2 separate regions of the Homo sapiens genome follow, and region 1 is linked to region 2. Evidence: promoter capture Hi-C in 16 types of primary human blood cells and fetal thymus (Javierre and others, 2016). All regions are on one chromosome and are shown on one strand. Each heading gives the region's core, a stretch centred on a gene start or on the middle of the fragment in contact. The rest is flanking DNA. Distances are from core to core; before and after follow the strand shown. Region 1 overlaps SARDH (sarcosine dehydrogenase). Region 2 holds the start of ADAMTSL2 (ADAMTS like 2).

Region 1 (6,183 bases), core at 2,624-5,123, 180 kb before region 2:
GCCTGGCAGAAGAAGGTTTATTTCTCGACTCTCAATTCTAATCCATTGATCTGTAGGTCTATCCTTACTTAGTACCTCACTGTCTTGATTATGTAGCTTTGCAGTAAGTTTGGTATCAAGAAGTGTGAATCCTCCAACTTTGTTTTTCCTTTTCAAAATTGTTTTGGGTATTCTTGGTCCCTTGCATCTCTGTATGAACTTTAGGGTCAGCTATTTAATTTCTTCAAAGAAACTAGCTGAGATTCTGACAGGCATTGTGTTGAAGCTATGGATCAATTTGGGGTGTGTTGTCAGCTTAACAAAAATAAGTCTTTCATTTCATGAACGTGAGATGTCCTTCTATTTATTTAGGTCTTCTTTAATTTCTTTCGAAAGTATTTTCTAGTTTTTAGAGTACAAGTTTTGCAATTCTTTTGTCAAATTTGTTCCTAAGCATATTTATTATTTTTGATGATATTGTAAATGAAATTATTTCTTAACTTCCTTTTCAGATTATTCAATGCTAGAGTATAGAAATATATTAGTTTTTTGGCTGAGCCCAGTGGCTCATGCCTATAATCCCAGCACTTTGGGAAGCTGAGGTGGGTGGATTGCTTGAGGTCAGGAGTTCAAGACCAGCCTGGCCAACATGGTGAAACCCTGTCTCTACTAAAAACACAAAAATTAGTCAGGCATGGTCCCAGCTACTCGGTAGGCTGAGGCAGGAGAATCACTTGAACCCAGGAGGTGCAGGTTGCAGTGAGTTGAGATGGCACCACTGCACTCTAGCCTGGGCGATAGAGCAGGACTCTGTCAGAAAGAAAGAGAGAAAGAGAGAGAGAGAGAGAGAGAGAGAGAGAGAGAGAGCGCTAGTAGTTTTTTAGTGGTTTCCTTAGGATTTTGTATATACAAGACCTTGTTATCTGCAAATAGGAATATTTTTACTTCTTCTTTTTCAATCTGGGTGCCTTTTATTACTTTTGCTGCCTAATTGCTGCCCTGGCTAAAACCTCCAATGTAATGTTGGGTAGAAGGGGTAAGAATGGATATCTTTCTCTAATTCCTGATCTTGGGGGGAAATCAGCCATCCTTCTTCCTTGAAGTATCACATTCCATGTGGGTTTTTGTAGATACCCTTCAGCACTTTGAGGAAGTTCCCTTCTTCCAAGTTTGTTAAGTGTTTGTTGAGGCTTTAAAAAAAAAAATCATTAAAGATGTTGGATTCTGTCAAATGCTTCTCATGCATCTACTGGGATGATTACGTGGTTTTTGTCCTGTACTTTGTTGATGTGGGGTATTCTATTGATTGGTTTTCATACATTATACCAAACTTGCCTTCCTAGGATAAATTCCAGTTGGCCATGGTGTTTTGTTTTGTTTTGTTTTGTGTTTTTGAGACAGAGTGAGACTCTGTTGCCCAGGCTGGAGTGCAGTGGTGTGATCTTGGCTTACTGCAACCTTCGCTTCCTGGGTTCAAGCAAATTCTCCTGCCTCCACTCCTGAGTAGCTGGGATTACAGGCATGTGCCACGACACCCAGCTGATTTTTGTATTTTTAGTAGAGTTGGGGTTTCACCATGTTGCCAAGGCTGGTCTCGAACTCCTGACCTCAAATGACCCTCCCGCCTTGGCCTCCCAAAGTGCTGGGATTACAGGCATGAGCCACCACGTCCAGTCTGGCCATGGTGTATCATCTCTCTTATATATTGCTGGATTCAGTTTGCTATTGTTTTGTTGGGGGTATTTGCATGTGTATATATAACTGTCACTATTTTTCCCCAGTTGTGTCAAGGGATCTGTCAAACATATTGATACTATTGATACTATTTTCTGAATACGCACACACATCAGATAAACCACCTAACGCCCCCAAGTCCCATTTCCCTCCCCTGGAGGACTTCCTGCTGCCTTCAGATCTTCCGCTCCCTTTTGGACTGACCGCTGCATGGTCTAAGCTGTCACTCCAGGGCCTTCTTCACGCCTCCCCGCTGGAGCCATGGCTTTCACTCTTTCTGGGTTTATTTTCTTCCTTTTGTCACAGCGTGTTCTCTGGCTGTTTACTGCAAAGGAGTACGAGAGAAGTATATGTTTTGTGTCCATGAATGTCTGAAAAAGCTTTTATTCTTTGCTTACACTCGATTGATGGCTTGACAGGATCTAGAATTCTGTGTTGAAAATCATCCATTAGACGTTTGAAGAGTTTGCTCCATGTCTTCCAGCCTCCAGCGATGCAGTCCCCTGTTGATGGCCCTCCTGGCCATCCGGTGTTGTGATGTTTCCCACGGCGTGGCCTTGGTGCAGGCCTCTGTCCAGACTCAGGGCTTGGTGGGCACTCTTGGGCCCTTCCATATGAATGCGTGATTTTCAATCGGAGGACTCTTCTTGGGCTGTTGCTTGGACATTTTTCTCGACTCCATTTTTCTCTGTCTTCTCTTTCTGGAACCGCTGTAAAATGGATGTTGAACTTTCAAGACGGACCTTCTGATATTCTTATTTTTTTTCCACTCCTGATTTCTGTTTTGTTGTCTTTTTCTTTTAGCCTAATCGCTGGATGATGGCCCCAGCCTTATCTGGCCCTTCCATTGAATTTTAAATTTTGACTATCATATCTCATTTAAAGACCTCTTTCTTCATCTTAGATTCCTTTCTCATAGCACTGTCTGTCACTCTGATACAGTTTGGCTGTGTCCCCACCCAAAGCTCACCTTGAATCGTAATAATCCCCATGTGTCAAGGGTGGGGCCAGGTGGAGATAATTGAATCATGGGGTGGTTTCCCCCATACTGTTCTCATGGTAGGGAATAAGTCTCAGGAGATCTGATGGTTTTATAAAGGGAGTTCCCCTGCACATGCTCTCTCTCTCTTTCCTGCTGCCATGTAAGACATGCCTTTGCTCCTCATTTGCCTTCCACCATGATTGTGAGGCCTCCCCAGCCATGTGGAACTGTGAGTCCATTAAACCTCTTTCCTGTATAAATTACCCAGTCTTGGGTATGTCTTTATTAGCAGCGTGAGAACACACTAATACACCATCTTCTTGTATTCCTGATGTTCTTGTTGTGGTTTGTGGTTATTTATTTATGAGACAGAGTTTCACTCTTGTTGCCCAGGCTGGAGTGCAATGGTGCAATCTTGGCTCACTGCAACCTTCGCCTCCCAGGTTCAAGCCATTCTCCTGTCTCAGACTCCTGAGTAGCTGGGATTACAGCTGCCCACCACCACGCCCGGTTAATTTTTTGTATTTTTAGTAGAGATGGGGTTTCACCATGTTGGCCAGGCTGATTTTGAACTCCTGACCTCAGGTGATTCACCCATGTCGGCCTCCCAAAGTGCTGGGATTACAGGTGTGAGCCACAGTGCCTGGCCTGTGGTTTTGTTTTATTTATTTATTTATTTATTTTGAGACGGAGTCTTGCTCTGTCACCCAGGCTGGAGTGCAGTGGCACGATCTCGGCTCACTGCAAGCACCACGTTCTGGGTTCACGCATTCTCCTGCCTCAGCCTCCCGAATAGCTGGGACTACAGGCGCCCGCCACCACGCCCAGCTAATTTTTTGTATTTTTAGTAGAGACGAGGTTTCACCATATTAGTCAGGATGGTCTTGATTTCCTGACCTCGTGATCTGCCTGCCTTGGCCTCCCAAAGCACTGGGATTACAGGTGTGAGCCACCGTGCCTGGCCTGTGGTTTTGTTTTTAGGAGAGAGTGAGCAGCAGTGTGATTGGAGGCTTGGAGGGGAGGACTGGAGAGCCTCTCAGGAAGGGTGGGCGGCAAGCCTTTCGCTTTTAGAGAGACCCTGGTGTCAACATCTCAAGCCTTCCCTGGGCCTCTCAGTGTCTCACAGAAGAGTCTCCAATCTGCTCCTGGGGTGGGGGGGTGGGGGGATGGCAGTCCACTCTCCCCACTTCTGGAGCCTCTCAGGACCCACCTCTCCAGAGGAAGATCCTTCCATACATGAGCAAGCGCATCACCCCCTGAAGAGGGACCTGGGGTGGCTCTGAAGATTCAAGAGGAGGCAGGAGGGGCACACTGGCTTGCCTTGCTCAGTCTCCCTCTCCTCCAGCCCCAGCTAAGTCTCACCCCTCCTCCATCCACTCTGCGTCCTCCAGGGTTGGTTGGAATCTCCCATCCTCTACTGCTGCCTCTGCCTGTTCTCTCATCTTTGTCGGTTATATGTTTTGCTTCCCTCCCTTCCTCCCTTGCTCTCTTCCTCGATCCATTCCTTCTTCCTTCTTCCCCTTTTGCTGTTATTTTATGGGATTTGGGGAAGGAGAGGCTTGAATGGCAGTGACCCATTCACTGTGTGTAACTTGAGGCCCCGTGTCCACTCTGTCCTCGGGGTCCTACAACGAGAAGGACCATCTCGAGCCCGTGACCCTGGGTGGAGGTGCTGGCCCACCACGGGGCATGGGGAACCAAGTCCCCACCCAGTTCTGGATGATGCCAAGGCCTCTCTCTCTGCCTTCCAGAACATGCCCAATGTCCGTGATCATGATGCCTCTGTCTACCTCCGCCTCCAAGGGGATGCCTTGTCTGTGGGTGGCTATGAGGCCAACCCCATCTTTTGGGAGGAGGTAAGATGCCAGGGCCCTGGGATAATGGGAGGGAGTTGGGGCTGCATCTCAGCATGGAGAGGGCCTCTTTCAGGAAGTCCATCCTCCTGAAGCTCCTCAGAGGCACACCTGAGAAGTGGCCGGTCCCCTGACCCCACCAAGCTCAAAGCCATCTTGCTCTTACCCTGACGGTCCTGGCAGGCAGTCAAATACAGACCCAGGGCAGCTGGAGGGCTTTGCCTCAAAACATCCACAGAGAAGGTCTGCGCAGTGTGGAGTGATGACCTCAGAAGGGCATGAGAGCACACAAGTCCTACGTCCTTCAGCAAATGACACTGCCCTCCCAACCAGCTGCTGCAGCGGCATTTCCCCTGGCCTGGGCTGTTTCCCGGGCAGCTTCTGGGGTTAGGGCAGCCCTGCAGCCCTGTTCTATGTGTATATGCATTTAGTCCACACATGGAACGACTGAGTGGCTACTTTGGGCTAAAAACTGCTTTAATTTCTGGAGAAAGAGGGAAACTAAGATAAAAGTCCCTGACTCTGGGTGCCTATATTTTGGTGGAGAGACATACAATAAACAAACAAATGGCTGGGCACGGTGGCTCACACCTGTAATCCCAGCACTTTGGGAGGCTGAGGTGGGCGGACCACCTGAGGTCAGGAATTTGAGGCCAGCCTGGCCAACATGGTGAAATCCCAACTCTACTAAAAATACAAAAATTAGCCAGGTGTGGTGGCGGGCACCTGTAATCCCAGCTACTTGGGAGGCTGAGGCAGGAGAATCACTTGAACCCGGGAGATGGAGGTGGCAGTGAGCCGAGATCGCACCACTTTACTCCAGCCTGGGTGACAGAGTGAGACTGTTACAAACAAACAAACAAACAAATGAACAAGGAATGAAATTCTGGAAGATGATCGCGCACTGAATAAAATTAGCAGGTTAAGGATCAGCCTAGAGAGACTGGAGCAGAAGGATATCCTTTAGATGGGTGGTCAGGGCAGGGTTTTTCAGGGAGGGGACATCCAAGCAGAGCCCTGCACCGCGACAACAAACCAGCGTGCCAGGTCTGGGTGAAGAACTGCCCCATTGAGGGGTGAAGGCCTTGAGCTCACACAAGCTTGCTCTTCCCAAAGAGCTGCAGGAAGGTCAGGGTGGCGGGCCCAGTGGTAGAGGTAGGCAGGCTGGCACATGCCATACAGGGCTTTGGGGCCATCGTGAGCTGCAGGGGGCCAGAGGAGGCTTGTGAGTAGGGAAGGGGCATGGTGGGATCTAGGGGAGTGGGTGGAGGCCTGGGCTGGGGTGGGGAGGGGGAGCAGACAGACCTTGCTGATGGGTTGGTGGGTGGGGGAGACAAACGGCTGGGACGTGTGGGTGACCACCAGCCCTCTAATGCATCTGATTCAGCAGAGGCTGGCCTGGCAGCCATCACAAGGCAGGTTTGGCATGGGGATGCATGGCCTTCTTGGGGACAACGGAGATGTTCCCCTGCCCTGCCTTGGCAGGTGTCAGACAAGTTTGCCTTCGGCCTCTTTGACCTGGACTGGGAGGTGTTCACCCAGCACATTGAAGGCGCCATCAACAGGGTCCCCGTGCTGGAGAAGACAGGAATCAAGTCCACGGTCTGCGGCCCTGGTGAGTGACAGCCTCGGAGC
Region 2 (6,098 bases), core at 349-2,848:
AAGGGATGGGCCTGGGCTCAGTCCAGCGCCTTGGCAGGAGCACCTTGGGATTTTAACTGGCTCAGCTCTTGCTGGCCTCGCAGGAGAATGGCCTCTGCCACTGGCTGCTAGGGTCAGTGCATGGGGATGGGCTTGGCCAGGTCCCGGGGGAATGTGCAGCCTCGCCCTAGACCAGCAGCTCCACAGTCAGCATCCAGCAACAGCCGGCACTCAGGTGAGGCAGAACCCAGGTACCTATGCCGCCTCCCGATCCCCGGAGAGAAGATGGAATTGGGGGAGGGGCAGGGCAGGAGGAGGTGCAGTTTGTGCCAGCATGTCAGCAGTCCAGGGCCACAAGGCTGACTTCCTCCCAACAGCCAGCACCCTTGGCTCAAAACACCTGCCAGGGGTCAAAGCAAGCCCATTGGAAGGGACTGTCCAGCCTCCAGGCCCTCAGCTCTCCCCACCCCCTCCTCAGCGTCGACCCTGCCCTGTGGAAGGGAAGACCAGAGATCCACCATGACCTCTGTCCAGGCCTTGCTCAGGTGCTGAGGGTCACTTGCCAGCGAGTTAGAGAAGGGATTTCAGAAACCACGCAGCCTGCACTCATAACCTGGAGCCCAGAGAGGGGAGCCAACCTGCTCAAAGCCACACAGCAAGGTAGCACACTAGCAAACTCAGGGACTCGACCCCCACGCCTGGCCAATTCCAGGGGAAGAAGGCATGGAGGTCACCCCTCACCCCTGCCAGGCCAGAGGCCAACTCGGGCTCTGCCCCTCCCTCCTCAGCAGCCTCCATCCAACTTGAAGAGTTTCCTTGCAGGCCCGGCACCTGCAGATTTTCAGGGGCCACTCCAAGGACACCACTGCAGCCCGGACGACGCAGCAGTGCACCCTGGAGTGGGGAGCCTGAGTCTGACCTCCCCTGCCCCCGCCGCCTGCCCCCCACCTCCCTCCCCTGCAGACCTCCATCTGCACTCTCAGCCTCACACCCACAGGAGCCCCCTCCACTGTGCCATTGGCTAACGGGTGCCCCAGCCTCTGCCTGCCGGCTGAAGACAGGTGCCAGCCGGCCTCACACTTGCTTTTTTCATTAAGGCTTCCAGACACCACTGGCTTCTGGCCAGGCCTCGCTCACGGGGATCCATCCCTCCCTGGGGTCCAAAAGCAGCGGCTGGCGGCAGCAGAGAGGTCTGCCGTGCACACAGAGCTCCGGGCGCACAAGGCTAGGTGCTGGGAGGCCACCCTGCCCCGTGCTCTGCGGCCCGACCCCTCCCCACAAGCCTCCCCACGTTATGTAACGGCTCCAGAGGGCGCGGGGTGCTCCTACCCCCAGCCCCACTCTGAGCAGTGGGCTGGCCTGGTGGACGCTGCAACGTGAGGGGGACGGGGACGAGGTGGCCTACCTGGCTTCGGGTCAGCAGGTTGTCCTCCCAGAGAAAGGGGCGAGCGCTGCGGAGGGCAGACGGCGCCAGGTGCGCTGTGCGTGCGGGGGCGGCGTGAGTGCAGAGGCTGCGGCCCGGCCTCCCTCTCCCCTTCCCCTCCTCCCCCGCGCCGCCTCCCTCTCCCACTTCAAAGAGCATCCAAGAGAGGGGGTTCCCGGGAGGGGCGCAGCCCAGTGGCGGCTCTGCGCCGGCGGCCGCCTTTATAGCTGTCAGGCAGACGGGGAGGAACACTCACACTTCCCACCAGGCCGCTCCCCCGCCCGCGCCGGCCGGCCTGGCGCACACTTTAACCCGCTCTGCGCCTCTGGAGCCCGGCCAGGCCGGCCCAGCTGCCTGTTGGCTGCTGCCGGCGGCGGCGGCCCAGGAGCGGCGAGCAGGGAGGCCTTCTTCCCGGGTCCAGAACTGGGGGCCACATGTCGGGTGTCCAGACGGAGCAGCCGCTGGCCTGAGGTTACCGGGGAGGCTGGCGGTGGCAAAGCCCCAGCCCCGCCTGTCCGGCTTCTGCCTCCAGAGCGGGCCCTGTCCCTGGGGCTCCTGAGAATGGGGTCTGGGATGTATGAGGTGTCCCGTCTGATGGCTCCGTTGTACGGAGGGAAAGGCTGAACTTCCGGGACGACCGTGCCCCAGGTCACGAGCCTCAGAAAGCTCCCGAGATGCAGGGGCCTAAGCAGGTGGAGGGACGCAGGGAGACCCAGCGAGAATGAACCAAGGGCTCCAGGGAGGAGACAGATGTGCCCGTGGCCTGCTGACCAGATGGCTAGAGCAGCCAGGGCCAGGGCAGAGAGGCTCAGGGATTCTGCAGATGTCCAGCACCAACTTGGCAGCCCCTGGCAGGCCAGGCCTGGAGCTCAAGCCTCTGTTCCTGCTGAGTCAGGGCACAGAGGGGAGCGAGAGTGGGTGGAGCAGCAGAGCCCCCCTGGGAAACTCCCGGCGGGCCCCAGACTTTGTGAGGCTTTCCTAAAGCAAGGCTGGGCACCTAGCCTCTGCACACCAGCTTCCCCAGAGCCCATCCTCGGCAAACAGAGGCACCTCCAAAAAGGGGAGGAGGAGGAAGCTGGGGCACCATTCCATCAGGTCATCTGTGTCTTTTCATCCATGCCCCTGCCTCCATGCAGCAGATGTCCTGGGCCCACAGCAGTGCCGGGAAGACACTTCTCCTTCCCTCTGTCCTCCCTGCTGGAAGAAACTTGTGAGTTCCTTCAGCTGCCTTCATGAGAAAGTTCTGCCCTGTGTCTGACCACCCACCAGAAAGGCTGGGAAGGAAAGCCACCAGTAATAGTAGTGAAAGCGATAATACCGTCTGCCCTCTGTCCAGCTTGTCCTACGGGCCCAGAGCTGTGAGGCCAGATCCACCTTTATGATCTGCATTTCACAGGTGGAAGAACTGAGGTTCGGGGACCAAGTCACCTCTCCAGTAGGCAAGGCTGGGATGCCAGCGCTCCTGAGTGTCGGGTTCTCTCCTCTGCCGGGTTGTTTAAGTTTCTCTCCCCGGGACCCTCGGGCAGGCAAGTCTTATTCATCTCATTCTCCTGCTGGGGCAACTGGGATGCAAGGTGGCTGCTCCTAGTCACAGGGCCACCTGCGGTGTGGAACCAGGACTAACCCTAACCCTAACCCAGGCCCACACTGCCCCCTGGGGTCGCTGTGCTGAATCACAGACATGGTGGCACCTGTCACCCAGCACACACACACACACACACACACACACACACACAGGCACACACACACCCAGTCCCTCTCACATGACCGGATTACACTCGCTCTGGGTGCCTCTGCCATCCCCTTCCTCTCTCTTCTGGTGACCGCCAGGCCTCGCACCCCTTGGCACAGTCCCCGAGCTCTCCTGGCGTTTGTGGCCTCACATCCAGCCAGCGCCAGGGTGACTAACGGTTTCCCTTGGGAGGGACCCCACAGCCGACCAACACAAACACCCCCAGTGTCTTCTCTTGGCTCAGCAGGACGGCACAGGCTGCAGGCTGGCCACCTGGGAGACGGGTCTGTGGGGCCAGCCATCCCCTGGCTCTGTGACCTCCTGCAGGTGTGTGACCCTCCAGGCCCCAGCTCCCCTGGCCAGCCACACTTCCACACCACCCCCACCCCTTACCCCAGAGCCTGCAGACTTGAGGCCCACAGGGAGCCATGACTGGCACGTAGCAGGTGCTCTGGTAGCTCCTGATGCCAGGGGCTCCTTACCCCTTAGAGAGTGCTGTTGAGGTGAGTCCCCCACTCTCCAGGATCCCTCTTCGGCCTGCAAATTCCCGGCCTCTCAGGGCCTTCCCCATGTAGGATGGTCTCAGCCCACACCTACCGGCACTTGTAGGGGTGTTGCAGCCGTATGGCCCTGGTGCTGGAGACACCACCTGCCTTTAGAAGGGGATTGTTGGCCAGGCGCAGTGGCTCATGCCTATAATCCCAGCAGTTTGAGAGGCTGAAGCAGGGGGATCACACGAGGTCAGGAGTTTGAGACCAGCATGGCCAACATGGTAAAATCCTGTCTCTACTAAAAATACAAAAATTAGCTGGGCGTGGTGGCGGGCACCTGTAATCCCAGCTACTCGGAAGGCTGAGGCAGGAGAATTGCTTGAACCTGGGAGGTGGAGGTTGCAGTGAGCCGAGATCTCGCCGCTGCCCTCCAGTCTGGGTGAAAGAGTGAGATTCCGTCTCAAAAAGAAAAAAAGAGAGAGAAAAAAAAGAAGGGGATTTTCTCCGCCAGTGTTTTCCAGATATCTGAGGAGCTTAGAAATAGGACAGCAGGAATATGTGTGGGGGATGCCCGGGAGGGTGGGGTTCCAGGGAAAACACGGCGGGGATAGAGAAGCAGGCTTGAGGCAGAGGGGCTGGTGGGCCGTGGCTGACCACTTTGGAGGTTCCCTGGGGAGGATGTTAGGCTGCCGCAGTGGGAGCAGGGCCTGTCCTCACAGCAAAGTGGCCACAGCAGGCTCGGGAGTTTAAGGACGTGGCCCGAGCTGTCGAGGTGGGTCCCCTCTCTGTCACCCAGAGGCCTAGCAGGCCTGGCAAATGTATGTGTGTAGTGTGGTTCACCTAGCCGATAGGGCTGGCCGGCCACAGCCTCAAGAGTGGCCCACCAATACCACCTTCCCTGGCATCCTGCGGTTCTTCTCTGTTGCCAGCCCAGGACCCAGAACATCCTAGGAGCCTCCTGGGCAGACCCAGCCAGAGTTCTCACACCTGACTGGGACGGGGCCACCAAGGGACCATGTGGCCAGCTGGGAGGTGGCTGGCAGCCCCGGAAGAGGACCAGGACTCAGAAGGCAGCCCCAGGGAAAGAGCGAGGGGGCCTCAGCAACCCCAAGAGCCGTCCCTGTCCCCGAGCTTCCTTCCTGGCCCAGGATAGAAGCCAGCTGTCCCTGAGACCCCCCTGGGGCTGGATATACGGGAAGAGCCTCCCCCGCCTTCCCTGGCTGGTCCCAGGTCCATGCACGACCACTGGCTGGCCAGGTCACTTCAGGCCACTTGTCCCTGACAGGCCGAGTTTCCTGGTCTGTTGCACAAGGTCAAGGTCCTTTTTTAGCCCCAGACATCTCACAGGCACACTCAAGAGACAACTGAGACAAAAGCAGAGGTGGGGGCTCCTGCTTCCCCTCTTCTCCCCAGCAGCCCTGAGGCCCCTTCTGGGCACCAGGACTCCTGGAAGCATCATCTGAAAGCTGGCGGACCGGAAGAACCCCAGCCCCCAGCAGCCCCTCGGGCTCTGCTCGCACACGGCCATGACCTCCAGAGATGCCCCGTGTCAGGGATATCTGCTGGGGGCAGGAGGACATCACCAAGCCAGTGAGCTCTTTCTTCCATGCCACCCACAGTGACCAGGGGCGGGCAGCCACTGGTGTCACAGCCAGGTGAAGCAGGAAACCCAGGACCTTGGATCCCGACACTCAGAAGGGCCCCGTCTCAGAGGCTTAGCGTGGAGGCTCAGCATAGGAAGCAGCAGCTCTTCCAATAGCACAGCAACAGCAGCCTCACGCGTGAGTGCCTGGAACCGGACTCTTTGGGTTCAAATCCTGACTCCGTCTCTCTCCAGCTGGGTGACTTTGGGCGAGGGCAGAAGCTTCTCTGTGCCTCAGCTTCCTCACCTGTAAAGTGGCGGTGATAAGGCACTCCCCATGCTGGACTCTTGTGAGGCTGAAATGAGTCCATATGGGAGAAGGGCCTGGGATGGTGGTGGAGAAAGGAAGGGCTGCACGTGCTTTGCTCTGAGCCCAAAGGGTAGCCCGGGGCCAGTGTCTACTCTGCTGTCATCCTCCATCCTGACAATGCCACATCAGGTAACACTGCCACGCCCAGACAGAGAAGGAAGCTGAGGCCAAGGCTTGGACCCCGCCTGAGTCCAAGTGGACTTTCTCAGCCTGGCCAACTTTCTCACATTGTCTCTCGAGTGTGCCTGTGAGATGTCTGGGGCTAGGATGGGGTGCCTGTCATTGGTCCAGGATGGGGTGCACCTGGGTCCCAGGAGAGCCCAGAGCAGCAGGACGTGCTCAGCCTCCCCACCAGGACCAGCAGCGGGACCCTCCCCGATGGCCTCCACTGCTGTTCCTGGAGCCCAGGGCCTTGCGAGCCCTGACTCAGCTTCTCCTTTCCCTGCAAGCCCAGGGATGTGGTGCCCAAGAGGGGCAAGTTTCCACGTAGAGAGGCAAGCTGGGGCAGACAAGAGGCTGGG

What was found. Contacts are between HindIII fragments. The CHiCAGO score rates a contact against its expected background, and 5 or more counts as called.
Region 1: a fragment that was not itself captured here is called in contact with the fragment with the promoter of ADAMTSL2 in region 2 in 4 of 17 cell types (fetal thymus, activated CD4 T cells, naive CD4 T cells and 1 more); the score reaches 6.7 in fetal thymus.

The regions. Positions count from the first base shown.
Region 1 is chr9:133,717,306-133,723,488 of GRCh38, reverse strand. SARDH (sarcosine dehydrogenase) reads left to right here. Exons shown (of 21, transcript NM_001134707.2): 7 at 4,447-4,551; 8 at 6,034-6,163. Among named protein-coding and RNA genes, the nearest start is that of SARDH, 18 kb to the left of the region's middle. The HindIII fragment of the contact is 3,555 bases long and covers 2,096-5,650 here.
Region 2 is chr9:133,530,204-133,536,301 of GRCh38, reverse strand. It overlaps ADAMTSL2 (ADAMTS like 2), which reads right to left and starts at 1,598. Exons shown (of 19, transcript NM_014694.4): 1 at 1,385-1,598. RefSeq lists enhancers at 28-569, 1,110-1,651, 1,652-2,191, 2,192-2,733, 5,828-6,098 and a silencer at 2,992-3,081. The HindIII fragment of the contact is 12,534 bases long and covers 1-5,491 here.